2 separate regions of the Homo sapiens genome follow, and region 1 is linked to region 2. The links are contacts of gene promoters, found by promoter capture Hi-C in blood cells and fetal thymus (Javierre and others, 2016). All regions are on one chromosome and are shown on one strand. Each heading gives the region's core, a stretch centred on a gene start or on the middle of the fragment in contact. The rest is flanking DNA. Distances are from core to core; before and after follow the strand shown. Region 1 overlaps LOC107985835 (a long non-coding RNA gene). Region 2 holds the start of GLB1L (galactosidase beta 1 like).

The links. The method cuts DNA at HindIII sites, captures the fragments that hold promoters and counts their contacts. A CHiCAGO score of 5 or more calls a contact.
Region 1: a contact is called between a fragment that was not itself captured here and the fragment with the promoter of GLB1L in region 2, in 2 of 17 cell types (M1 macrophages and M2 macrophages). The highest score is 6.3, in M1 macrophages.

Annotation. Positions count from the first base shown.
Region 1 is chr2:219,346,200-219,351,477 of GRCh38, forward strand. LOC107985835 (a long non-coding RNA gene) reads right to left here. Exons shown (of 3, transcript XR_001739232.1): 3 at 4,468-4,618. Among named protein-coding and RNA genes, the nearest start is that of RESP18, 16 kb to the left of the region's middle. The HindIII fragment of the contact is 5,757 bases long and covers 1-4,551 here.
Region 2 is chr2:219,242,603-219,248,432 of GRCh38, forward strand. GLB1L (galactosidase beta 1 like) reads right to left here and starts at 2,842. Exons shown (of 17, transcript NM_001286423.2): 1 at 2,627-2,842; 2 at 900-1,041; 3 at 546-712; 4 at 166-316. The coding sequence starts at 971. It overlaps STK16 (serine/threonine kinase 16), which reads left to right and starts at 2,877. Exons shown (of 8, transcript NM_001330213.2): 1 at 2,877-3,194; 2 at 3,294-3,483; 3 at 4,055-4,274; 4 at 4,511-4,644; 5 at 4,813-4,933; 6 at 5,060-5,155; 7 at 5,591-5,712; 8 at 5,819-5,830. The coding sequence starts at 3,398. RefSeq lists enhancers at 2,558-3,140, 2,589-3,018. The HindIII fragment of the contact is 6,920 bases long and covers 1-5,830 here.

The sequences.
Region 1 (5,278 bases), core at 423-2,922, 100 kb after region 2:
TGAATAGGCCTCTGGCTTGCCCCTCTCTCACTCCCCCGCCCCCTCCCCTCCTTTCCCCCTCCTTTCTCCTTTCTCCTTCTTCCCTTCCCTTCCTTTCTCTCTTTCTCTCTCTCTCTCTCTTTCTCTCTCTCTCTTTCTTTCTTTCTTCTTTTTACTTTTTCCCCCTAGAAATGGGGTCCTGCTCTGTCACCCAGGCTGGAGTGCAGTAGCATGATCATAGCTCACTATAACCTCGAACTCCTGGGCTTGAGGGATCCTCCCACCTCCGTCTCCCAAGTAGCTGGGACTACAGGCAGAGGCTACCACACCCGGCTATTTAAAAAATTTTTCGTATATATGGGGGTCTTACTATATTGTCTAGGCTGATCTTGAATGCCTGGCCTCAGGCAATCCTTCTACCTTGGCTTCCTGAGTCACTGGGATTACTGGCGTGAGCCACTGAGCCGGCCTCTGGCTTTAATTCTTAGGAGTAAACCAAATTTCTTTCTCAAATCCTTCCTCCTCCAGTCACCCCTTTTTCTGTAAGTAGCGTGATTATTTTCCCAGGCAATAGTTCTCTAAATTTAGGTGGCTTCTCTCTTTATCTCTTCACTGAAACCCAGATGCTAAGACCAGGTGGGTTGGGGAGACCCTAACCCAGTGGCGCTAGAGGAATTAAACACACACACACAGAAATATAGAGGTGTGAAGTGGGAAATCAGGGGTCTCACAGCCTTCAGAGCTGAGAGCCCCGAACAGAGATTTACCCACATATTTATTAACAGCAAACCAGTCATTAGCATTGTTTCTATAGATATTAAATTAACTAAAAGTATCTTTTATGGGAAATGAAGGGATGGGCTGAATTAAAGGAATAGGTTGGGCTGGTTAACTGCAGCAGGAGCATGTCCCTAAGGCACAGATCGTTCATGCTATTGCTTGTGGCTTAAGAATGCCTTTAAGTGGTTTTCCACCCCGGGCGGGCCAGGTGTTCCTTGCCCTCATTCCCATAAACCCACAACCTTCCAGCTTGGGCATTAGGGCCATTATGAACATGTTACAGTGCTGCAGAGATTTTGTTTATGGCCAGTTTTGGGGCCAGTTTATGGCCAGATTTTGGGGGGCCTGCTCCCAACACCCAGACAGTTGCCAAGGCCTCTCAACTCACTCTTCAGCACAACTCTCAAAGGTGTCTCCTTTCCATTTGCTCCATCTCTGCCCAATTTCAGGCCCTTAGAGCATATGTAAGTCATCATATCACTGTTCTAATTGGCTACCTCCTTTTCATATATTTCCCCCCCTCTCGCCTCCTGCATTCATCCTTCAAATATGTTATTTCTTTGACTACAAAATGTCAGTGCTCCCCATGGCCTCTTAAAAATGAGACCTAGGCCGGGCACAGTGGCTCACGCCTGTAATCCCAGCACTTTGGGAGGCCGAGGCGGGCGGATCACAAGGTCAGGAGATCGAGACCATCCTGGCTAACACAGTGAAACCCTGTCTCTACTAAATATATATATATATATAAAATTAGCCGGGCATGGTGGCGAGCATCTGTAGTCCCAGCTACTCAGGAGACTGAGGCAGGAGAATGGCGTGAACCCGGGAGGCGGAGCTTGCAGTGAGTCGAGATCGCGCCACTGCACTCCAGCCTGGGCGACAGAGCGAGACTCTGTCTCAAAAAAAAAAAAAAATAATGAGACCTAAATTATAAACTTGGCCCTCCATCATCAAGCCCAAACCTACTTTTCCAGACTTACCTCCAGCTGTTCCAGAATTACTCGTTCACCCACTAATCTTCCTGCTTTCCAACTTCTTTGTCTTGTATGCTATTGTCCATACTTTATCACCTCCTACTGAAATCCACCCCAGACCTCCAGGGCCAGCTCAAAAAGTTTCTTCCGTGCTGGGACCTTCCCATATCACCCAGTTGCATGTACAATCAAGGGTCACAGACTGTCAGAGTGGAGAGGTCCATTTGTAAGGACAGAATTCACCAATTTCATGGATGGCGCAGTACAGTCTTCCAGCTGTAGCTCTTTTTCTCCACTATATTTATTTAACTCTACTCCATAAATATGTGTTGAGTACCTGGGCTGTACCTAGGTACTATGCTAGGTACCCATGACACAGAGATGAGTCAGTCATATACAGTGACCCCAAGGAAAAGCAAGGTATACCTACTTACAAGGTATAAAGTTAAACATTGAGTTTGCATGGAGAAGAGTGTGATGAACTCGGGAGAAATGATTGGAAGGTCAGAGAAGGCACAATAGAAAAGGGGATATTAAGCTCATATTTTTAGGATAAGATGGATAAGGTGTGTTGGTGGGTACTTGGGGGTAGAGAGTACTGTGTGTATAAGGGCTGAGCAGTGTGAACTAGCAAGGCCCAATTTGAGAAACACGAGTGGGGGCTGAATTGCTGAAGCATCCACACAGGCAGAAAGGAGAATGCCTTTAAATGAGACAGGAGAGGCTGGCAGGAGACTGAGGGCCATGTGGACCATATAAGAAGCCTGGACTTTTTCCTGTGGGTTATAGCGTCGTTAAATAGCTCCAAGCTCATGGAAGCAAGGACTTTGTCTTGTTCACCACTATATCCCTAGTGCCTAGGACTGAGCCCAAAACATAATAGATCATCTTAGTTTGGATTCACCCAAAAGGAACCTTGAAAAGAGGATCGGGTGCAGGTGGTCTAGGTGGCAGGTCATCCCTGCAAGCACAAGTGAAGGAAGGGGAAAGTGAGAGAAGGAAAGGAGAAAAGCCAATACACAGAATGTTGGTGAGCAGGTTGTTGCTGTGGGCAATTGGGAATTGACCCTGCTGGGGATTCCCGAGGATCCCTGTGGAAGTTGTCTCAAATTTATCCCACCGAGGGGAGGATACATTGGAATATTTATCCAGTAACACAGCCTTTTTTTTTTTTTTTTTTTTTTTTTTGAGACAGAGTCTTGCTTTGTTGCCCAGGCTGGAGTGCAATGGCACGATCTTGGCTCACTGCATCCTCTGCCTCCCAGTTTCAAGAGATTCTCGTGCCTCAGCCTCCCAAGTAGCTGGGATTACAGGCTCCCACCACCATGTCCAGATAATTTTTGTAGTTTTAGAGATGGGGTTTCGCCATGTTGGCCAGGCTGGTCTTGAACTTCTGACCTCAGGTGATCCACCTGCCTCAGCCTCCCAAAGTGCTGAGATTACAGGCGTGAGCCACCACGCCCAGCTAACTCAGCCTTTAAAGTGTTGATGATTGCCCCTGAGGGTGTTAAGTCCCAGGCACTTCAGGGCTGTCTGGTGCACAGGTGTGCAAGTTCTCCTGGTGTTCCAGAAAACCCGCAGGACGAGAATCAGAGTGTTTCCAGGTTTCGAGGTGGGAAGCTGTCAGCACACAGACGTTGTCCACGTGCTTGCTGCAGGTAACCTCAGAGATGGGCCATTGGATATGAGGCAGGGCACCTGCCTGGTCTGCTGCACAGGTGTTCAATATCTGTTGCACAAGTACGTCGTATGTATGTCTTCCTTCCCTGCCTAGCCTTCAATTGCCTTGAGGCAGGAACTATGTATTGCAGAGGCCAGGCACAGTAAAGCACAAATCTTTACAAATGTGGGTTGCATAAAAGAAAGTAAAATGTTTGATGGGGAAAAGTAAAGTGGGTGGTAAGGGTCAACCTAGCTAATAAAAATAGGTATAAATAAATATGACTAGTTGAGCATCATATTTATCGATGTCCTTACAAGCAAAGCGGCAGGGGAGAGGACATATATTGGTGGCATCATTGAGCCTGTATACTAAAGGACTCTCTTGTAATTTCTCTGTATTCCATAGTGGAGGGGCTTGATATTTTCCCTTGTGCTCCCACTTATGAGGATTGAATGAGCTGACTACCCAATGAACACTGAAAATTAACAAAACAAAATAAATGAGCTGAGTGTGCAGGTGCTTTGAGAAACATAAAACTTGAAGCATGGGACCTGCTGGAGCTTGGTTGGGTTGAACATTGGTGGCTAGACTCCCCTTTCCCAGGGGAAAATTGACCATAGGTACCAAAAGTTAAATGTGCATAGCCTTTGGCTGTGGAATTGTTTGTGGATTCTTGGGGTGGGGCTGGTATGACTGCCGTTTAGGGGACCCTAATGCTGAACAGGTACCATGGACCTCTGAAGGCAGAGCAGGGCCCAGACCTGCTTGACCTGGGGTCTGGAGGGGGTGGATTTCCTTCTATCAGGGGAAAGAAGACCAGTAAGACACAACTGAAGGCTGCGTGGGGATGGCTGCCTTGCCACCCTGCCTTTCACCTGCTTTAGAAATGACCCATGGAAGGAAAAAGGCATCTGAAACAAGGCCTTCGGACAACCAGGGGCTGGCTGTCTGCACCCACTCCCCAGGCTTCCCTGCATTTGGCTCCCACCTCTCCCAGCTCTCACCTGGGAGGCTCTGGCTTGGTCCCCCGGCCACCAATTCTGCCTCCAGACAAGTCTGCTGAGTTTTTTTTGAAAATTGACTTTAATAATCCAGATTTGGTTCAGCCTGAAATTGTCCTTCCTGAGAGCATCAGGGGAAGTATGAGGAATGGGAAGCTTCCCATGTGGCCTTAATCAGCTACGAGGTTGTGACTCAGAGTAGGGAATGGCTCAAAGACGTCCTAAAATGGGAAGAAACAAGGGATTTTCAGTTAATGCACTCAGGCAGTGGTTGCCACTCCCCTCCCTCTCCCCTTCCCCCACCAAGTGCAGAACCAATCTCAATAGCAGTCTCAAGTCCCTTCCCTTGTTCCCCATCTCTAATCCCGTCTCCTTCCCAGGATTTTCCAAGAGACACATTAGGGGTTTCTCAGGTTGCCTGAGCCTGAGGCATAGCAGCTCCTTGTTTGCATACTTGACAGAACCATGGCAACCAGTCCCCATCATGGGGTCAGTCACAAGACTAATGATGTGGCCCAGCAGACAATCCAAGCAAAGGAGCCCTGCTGCCATGGTGATGGGGGGCGGGGACCACCAGTTTCCTTGAAGGGCTGAGGGGCTGGAGCACCTCTGAGATACAGGTTGCCCTAATGGAGCCCATCTAGAAGTTTCCCAGATCCACTGCCACGATCATAGTCCCAGGTCCCAGGATCCCACCTGGACAACCTGGTTGCCCCAAACAGGTCTACCTGTTTCCACTCTTGTCCATTTCAAAATCCATTTTCCAACAGCATCAGTGTGTCTTTATAAAATGCTTATCATATTGTCCTACTCTCTTCCTTAAAAATCCTCCAATGCCTTCCCACTACACTTTGAATAACACCCGACCCCCTGTCTATGGA
Region 2 (5,830 bases), core at 1,592-4,091:
GCATGTAGGTTTTGTTTTGGGGTGTGGTGGGGAAGCTAGGAAGGGAAGGAAGGAAGGGAAGGAATTGAATATAGTGCTGGAGATGGCCCTAGAGTGTGGGCAGATGGGAGTAGTCTAGGAACTGCACAAGGATAACTGGTTCTATCCCTTCTCCAGCTAACTCACCATCTCCCACTCTGCACAGATGTAAGGTCCTGGTCTCAGTATGACCAACAGGTTCGCTAGAGCTGCCTCATTCAGAAAGGCAATGAGGTCCCGGCTGCCATTAAAGTTATAGACCCCAGGCTGTGGCTCGTGGTAGTTCCAGGGCACATAACTGAGAAAGGAAGAGGTTAATAGGAACCAAGGTGAAGAGACGCCAGGGAGGCCTAACGGCTCAGGCCTTGCAGGGAATCTCCAGGAAGCGGTTGGAAGGAGGTCCTGGCCTGCCCTTTCCCACCCTTGGCCTAGGAGTCCTGGCAGTCTTCCTGTCCCGACCTTCTTTATAAGGGGGCGGTAGAAAAAGTAGATCCCATCCCTCCGCGGCTCTTGCGAGCACTTCTTACAACTGTATGGCGTTGAGGCCGCTCCATCGCATCTTCAAAAGCCGGTCGGCCCAAAGCACCCGCGGTACCCGAAAGTAGTGCAGGCTGCCAGACACATAGCGGAACGGGGCCCCGTCTAGGAGAAACCGGTCATGACCCCTATCCACTACGAACGACCGAGTGTCTGCCTATAAAGAGAAAGAGACGCTGCTCAGCAGACGCCTGGAGGGAGCGTCGAGGGTCAGCGCCTGCCAAGAGCGGAAGAGATGGAACTAGCCCTGCGGGTTGTTTGGTTGTTACTTTGGACTTTCTCTCATCCGCTGGATCTGATCCCGCTCACCGCACCCGGCAGGCTGGTTCACCGTCTCATCTTACCTGGGGCAGCAGTAGCGTCAGGCTGAGCGGCAGCAGCAGGGAACGAAGGCAGGACAGCTTCTTGGGAGCCATGGCGTTTACAGCGCTCCTCTAGTCTGAGACGGCGGACAGACCGTCACGTGTCGGATTCCTGGGAGGGAACCTCAGCGAGCAAGGGGGCGGAAACCACCTCAAGTTGCCAGGCGTTTAGCCTGGACTTCCTCTCCAGCCTGCAGCCACCCCCTTACTCTACTAGTTTGTAAAATTTCTACATCATGTTAAAGTGCAGTTCACGAACCAGCTTCATCGACATCACCTGGGAACTTGTTAGAAATGGAGAATCTGGCTGGGCACGATGGCTCACGCCTGTAATCCCAACACTTTGGGAGGCCGAGGCGGGTGGATCACTTGAGGTCAGGAGTTCAAGACCAGCTTGGCCAACAGGGCAAAACCCTGTCTCTACTAAAAATACAAAAATTAGCCGGGCCTGGTGGCACGCGCCTGTATTCCAAGCTACTCCGAGGGTGGGGGTGGGGGTGGGGGTGGGGGTGGGGGTAGGGGCTGAGGCAGGAGAATTGCTTGAACCCGGAAGGCGGAGGTTGCAGTGAACCGAGATCCTGCCACTGCACTCCAGCCTGGGCAACAGAGCGAGACTCTGTCTCAAAAAACACAAACAAACAAACAAAAGAAATGTAAAATCTCAGATCCTACCTCAGACCTATAGAATCAGAATTTGTATTTTAACAAGATTCCCAGGTGATCCTAGGCACCTTCAAAATTGAGAAGCATGGCTTTACTTGACTGGGCTCCCTGAGGACAGGGAGTGCCCTGTTCATCTCAAATCCTCAGCCTCTAGCACAGGGCCGGGTATATAGTAGGTTAAATCTGGATGAATCAATGTCATAACCAAAAGGCTAAAACAGGTTCAGAACCAGGGGAAACCATTGGAAAATCTTCAGGGTGATCCGGGGTGTGGAAGGGAGGAACCAGGTCACAAGAAGGACCTCTTTCCTGGAGAGTCCTGTTTCAGCAAAACAGCCATTCCCTCCTGGCCATTCCACCTTCTTTGGAAGTGCACCCCTCTCCAGCTTACCCCTGCCTGCCTCCGCAACAGATATTAAGGACAACTGCTTTGTGCCAAAGCTCGAAAATCTGTGAATTTCCGTTCCTTTTGCCTTTACAGTCTCAAGAATGGGATGTGAAGATCAGGGTAATAATAATTACGGTTTATTGACACGTACTGAAGGCTATGTGTCAGATATTGTATTAAACACTGTACATCTCATTTAATCTTCAACTCCATGAGGTAGATAATTATTTCCATTTTACAGAGGAGGAGAGGAAAGGACAGAAACATTAAGTAGCCTGTCCAAGGTCACACAACTACGTTAACGGAGCTGTCATTTGAACTAGTCAGTCTGGCCTCACAGTTAAGCTACTTAACCTTATGTACTATTATACCTATTTTACAGCTACCAAAAGTAAGGATCCGAGAGGTTAAGTAACTTGCCCGAGGTTACACAGCTAGCATGCTATTAACACTCAATTTAGAAACTGGAAGTCTGGTTCACAAGCCTGAGCTCTTAACCACTGAGACTAGGGGTAGTGGGATACAGGCCAGAGCCCAGAAGGTTGTACGGGATCAGGAGACCAGGCCACCAGACCCGCCCCTCACTGGATCCCCCTCCAGGCTGCAGTGTAGTTGGCCGCTTTCTGCCCCAGAGCGCCAGAGGTATGAAGCCTCCTACCTCCAACATTGGGAGATGGAGGTCCTGGGGGCCTCGGGCCGAGCCCGGCTTTGCTCCCCTTTGGCGTAGGTGCCTGCGTCTTGACCCCCACCGAAGGCCAAGTAGAGAACCCTCACCAGGGTCCTGGGACCCGTCCACCCCTACACCTAGCTAGCCCGGAGCCTCTCAGCTCCGCGTCCCCACATCCTCCGGATGCCCAGCGGTTGCTGAGATACCGCGGGCCGTTACGCCGGCGCGGACTGATGATGTCAGCACTGCTTCCGGTCGGTGGCGCTTCTCTCTGGCCCGAGCCAGGTCAGTCCGGCAGTGCAGATGGCCCATCCCGGGCTCTGGGCTCCTAGACCGGGGTGGGCCCTGCCAGGAGTGGGCCTGAGCCTCGCACGTCCTCTGAAACTACGCTATGCTCTGCTTTTGCGGCGCGATGGGCGTGGGAGCGGGGGCTGCCCAAAGATGGGCTGGGGTTGGAGGAAGTGGCCCGGTAGCCGCTGTGTGTCCTGAGGCCGTAAGGCGCCTGACCCCACCCCTGAAGCTGGCGACGGAGCAGGGCCTGTTTTCTCTACACTATAGTGTAGGTTCCAGAGACCTGGGCCTGAGCTCTCCGCATTGGTACTTCATGGGTCGTCTGGATTGTGCCGGACCTGTGACCCTGCCGTTGTTTTCTTTCCAGCATGATCCGCTGGGCCCCCAGCGCATCTCCTGGAAGAGCCCACTCACCCTGGACGAGCTCTTCGGTAGCCTCAGACCGTCCTTGAAGAGGATGACTGAGACATTATGGGCCACGCGCTGTGTGTCTGCTCTCGGGGAACTGTCATCATTGACAATAAGCGCTACCTCTTCATCCAGAAACTGGGGGAGGGGTGAGTGTTTGGAAGTCAGTTAACTAGTCCTCAAGTTTATGATCATTGAAGGACAGCGGTGTGCATATGCTTGGGGCACAAGGGTTTTATCCCTATCCCTGTCCTCTCTCACCTGACAGAACCTAGCTACACAGTATCAAGAAGGTGGATTCTGGAGCCAGGCCTGCTAAATCCACCTCGTGTGACCTTGATAAACCATGTTTTTTTCATCAGCTTAATGGAGATGATTATTATCCCTCACTGATGGAGTTGTGAGGATTAAATGAGATAATGTGTATAAAATGTCTCACCCAATGCGGGGTTGACAAGTACTTGATAAGTGTTGGCTATTATTTATTTAGCATCTGTCAAGTGCAGAGGTCTCTATTACGACCATAGGACCTCAAAGATTTCTATATCTCTGCTCCTGAGGAGCTCACGGTGTAATATTCTTCAGATTTCTCTTAGAGCCACATCTTGGGAAGGTTTCTGCTAAATGGGAAGGACACCCCACTCCCCACCAGGAAATTTCTCTAGGTCCAAGCCATGTGGGAGATGACCATGGCCCTTTATTGACCCCTTTGGCCCACAGTGGGTTCAGCTATGTGGACCTAGTGGAAGGGTTACATGATGGACACTTCTACGCCCTGAAGCGAATCCTGTGTCACGAGCAGCAGGACCGGGAGGAGGCCCAGCGAGAAGCCGACATGCATCGCCTCTTCAATCACCCCAACATCCTTCGCCTCGTGGCTTACTGTCTGAGGGAACGGGGTGCTAAGCATGAGGCCTGGCTGCTGCTACCATTCTTCAAGGTCAGAAAGACTCCTGGTTATGGAGGGGGTTGCAGCAGAGCCACCTACTCAAGGGCTGTGTGAGCAGTCCAGCATGTTAGGAAGCAGGGACCATGTCCTGGGTTTGGCCACTTTAGATTTTGAGTTTGAGGTGTGTATCATGAAAGGGCTGATAGGCTTTGACATAGGGAAGGGATCAGGCCTAAGGAGCAGAGGCTCCAAAAACATCTCCAACTGTAGGGAAACTTGTGTTGCAGAGAGGTACGCTGTGGAATGAGATAGAAAGGCTGAAGGACAAAGGCAACTTCCTGACCGAGGATCAAATCCTTTGGCTGCTGCTGGGGATCTGCAGAGGCCTTGAGGCCATTCATGCCAAGGGTTATGCCCACAGGTCAGTGGGAGGACCCTGTGTGCTTGCTGGGGCCCAGAGGAAGAGCCTCACCAGGAGACATGGGAGGTCTCTGTTCTCCCAAGAAACAGCCTGTATGATTCTTTTGCTTGCTGGGATTCCAGCCTTCCTGTCCAGAGATGCTCATAGGTCACTTCTACTTCTCTACAGAGACTTGAAGCCCACCAATATATTGCTTGGAGATGAGGGGCAGCCAGTTTTAATGGACTTGGGTTCCATGAATCAAGCATGCATCCATGTGGAGGGCTCCCGCCAGGCTCTGACCCTGCAGGTAAAAGAGTCTCCAGGTTCCTTTTCTCACCTGTTCCCCATTCCCACCCCTTCTGGTGCATGTCCCAGTTTGGTCACATGACCATGACCTGTGCCCCACTTTTGAGCTCTGGGATCACTGTTCCAGGACTGGGCAGCCCAGCGGTGCACCATCTCCTACCGAGCCCCAGAGCTCTTCTCTGTGCAGAGTCACTGTGTCATCGATGAGCGGACTGATGTCTGGGTGAGGAGCATGTGGGTGGGTATCTGGGTAGGGAGGGCTGTGGCTCTGTACCCACCGTGGAGTAGAGTAGGTTGTTGGTTTCTGTTGCATGGGGCGCCAGGAACCACAATATGTCCCCATCCACTTCAACTTCCTTCCTGGGAAATGTCACTGATACTGTACCCAGTTGTACCGGATGTGGTATAATCTGTGCCCCTGAACAAGGTGAGTACAGCTCAGTGTCAGTAGTGAAGGCACTGGCTAAGCAGGGGCTAAGCTAAACAGGGGCTGCGGAGGCCTCCAGCTGACTGGCAGTTTCTCTGGACCCTGGTGGTGCCATGTGGCTGAGGTCAGCGTATTCTTTTTAGCTTATGGAGTCTCCTTTTACCACAGAAGTAAAGGGAGAGATGTCACCTCCACTGGTCCCCTTCTAGGGACTAATCAAGTTATGCTCAGTCCCTAGGCTGCGTGCTATATGCCATGATGTTTGGGGAAGGCCCTTATGACATGGTGTTCCAAAAGGGTGACAGTGTGGCCCTTGCTGTGCAGAACCAACTCAGCATCCCACAAAGCCCCAGGTGAGTGAGCAACGAATAGGGCATCAAGTGTTTCAGACTCCCCCCTGGTATTAGCTGAGTTGACAGATAGGTGTCATCCGGTCACCCTGGGCTCCTCCCTCCACAGGCATTCTTCAGC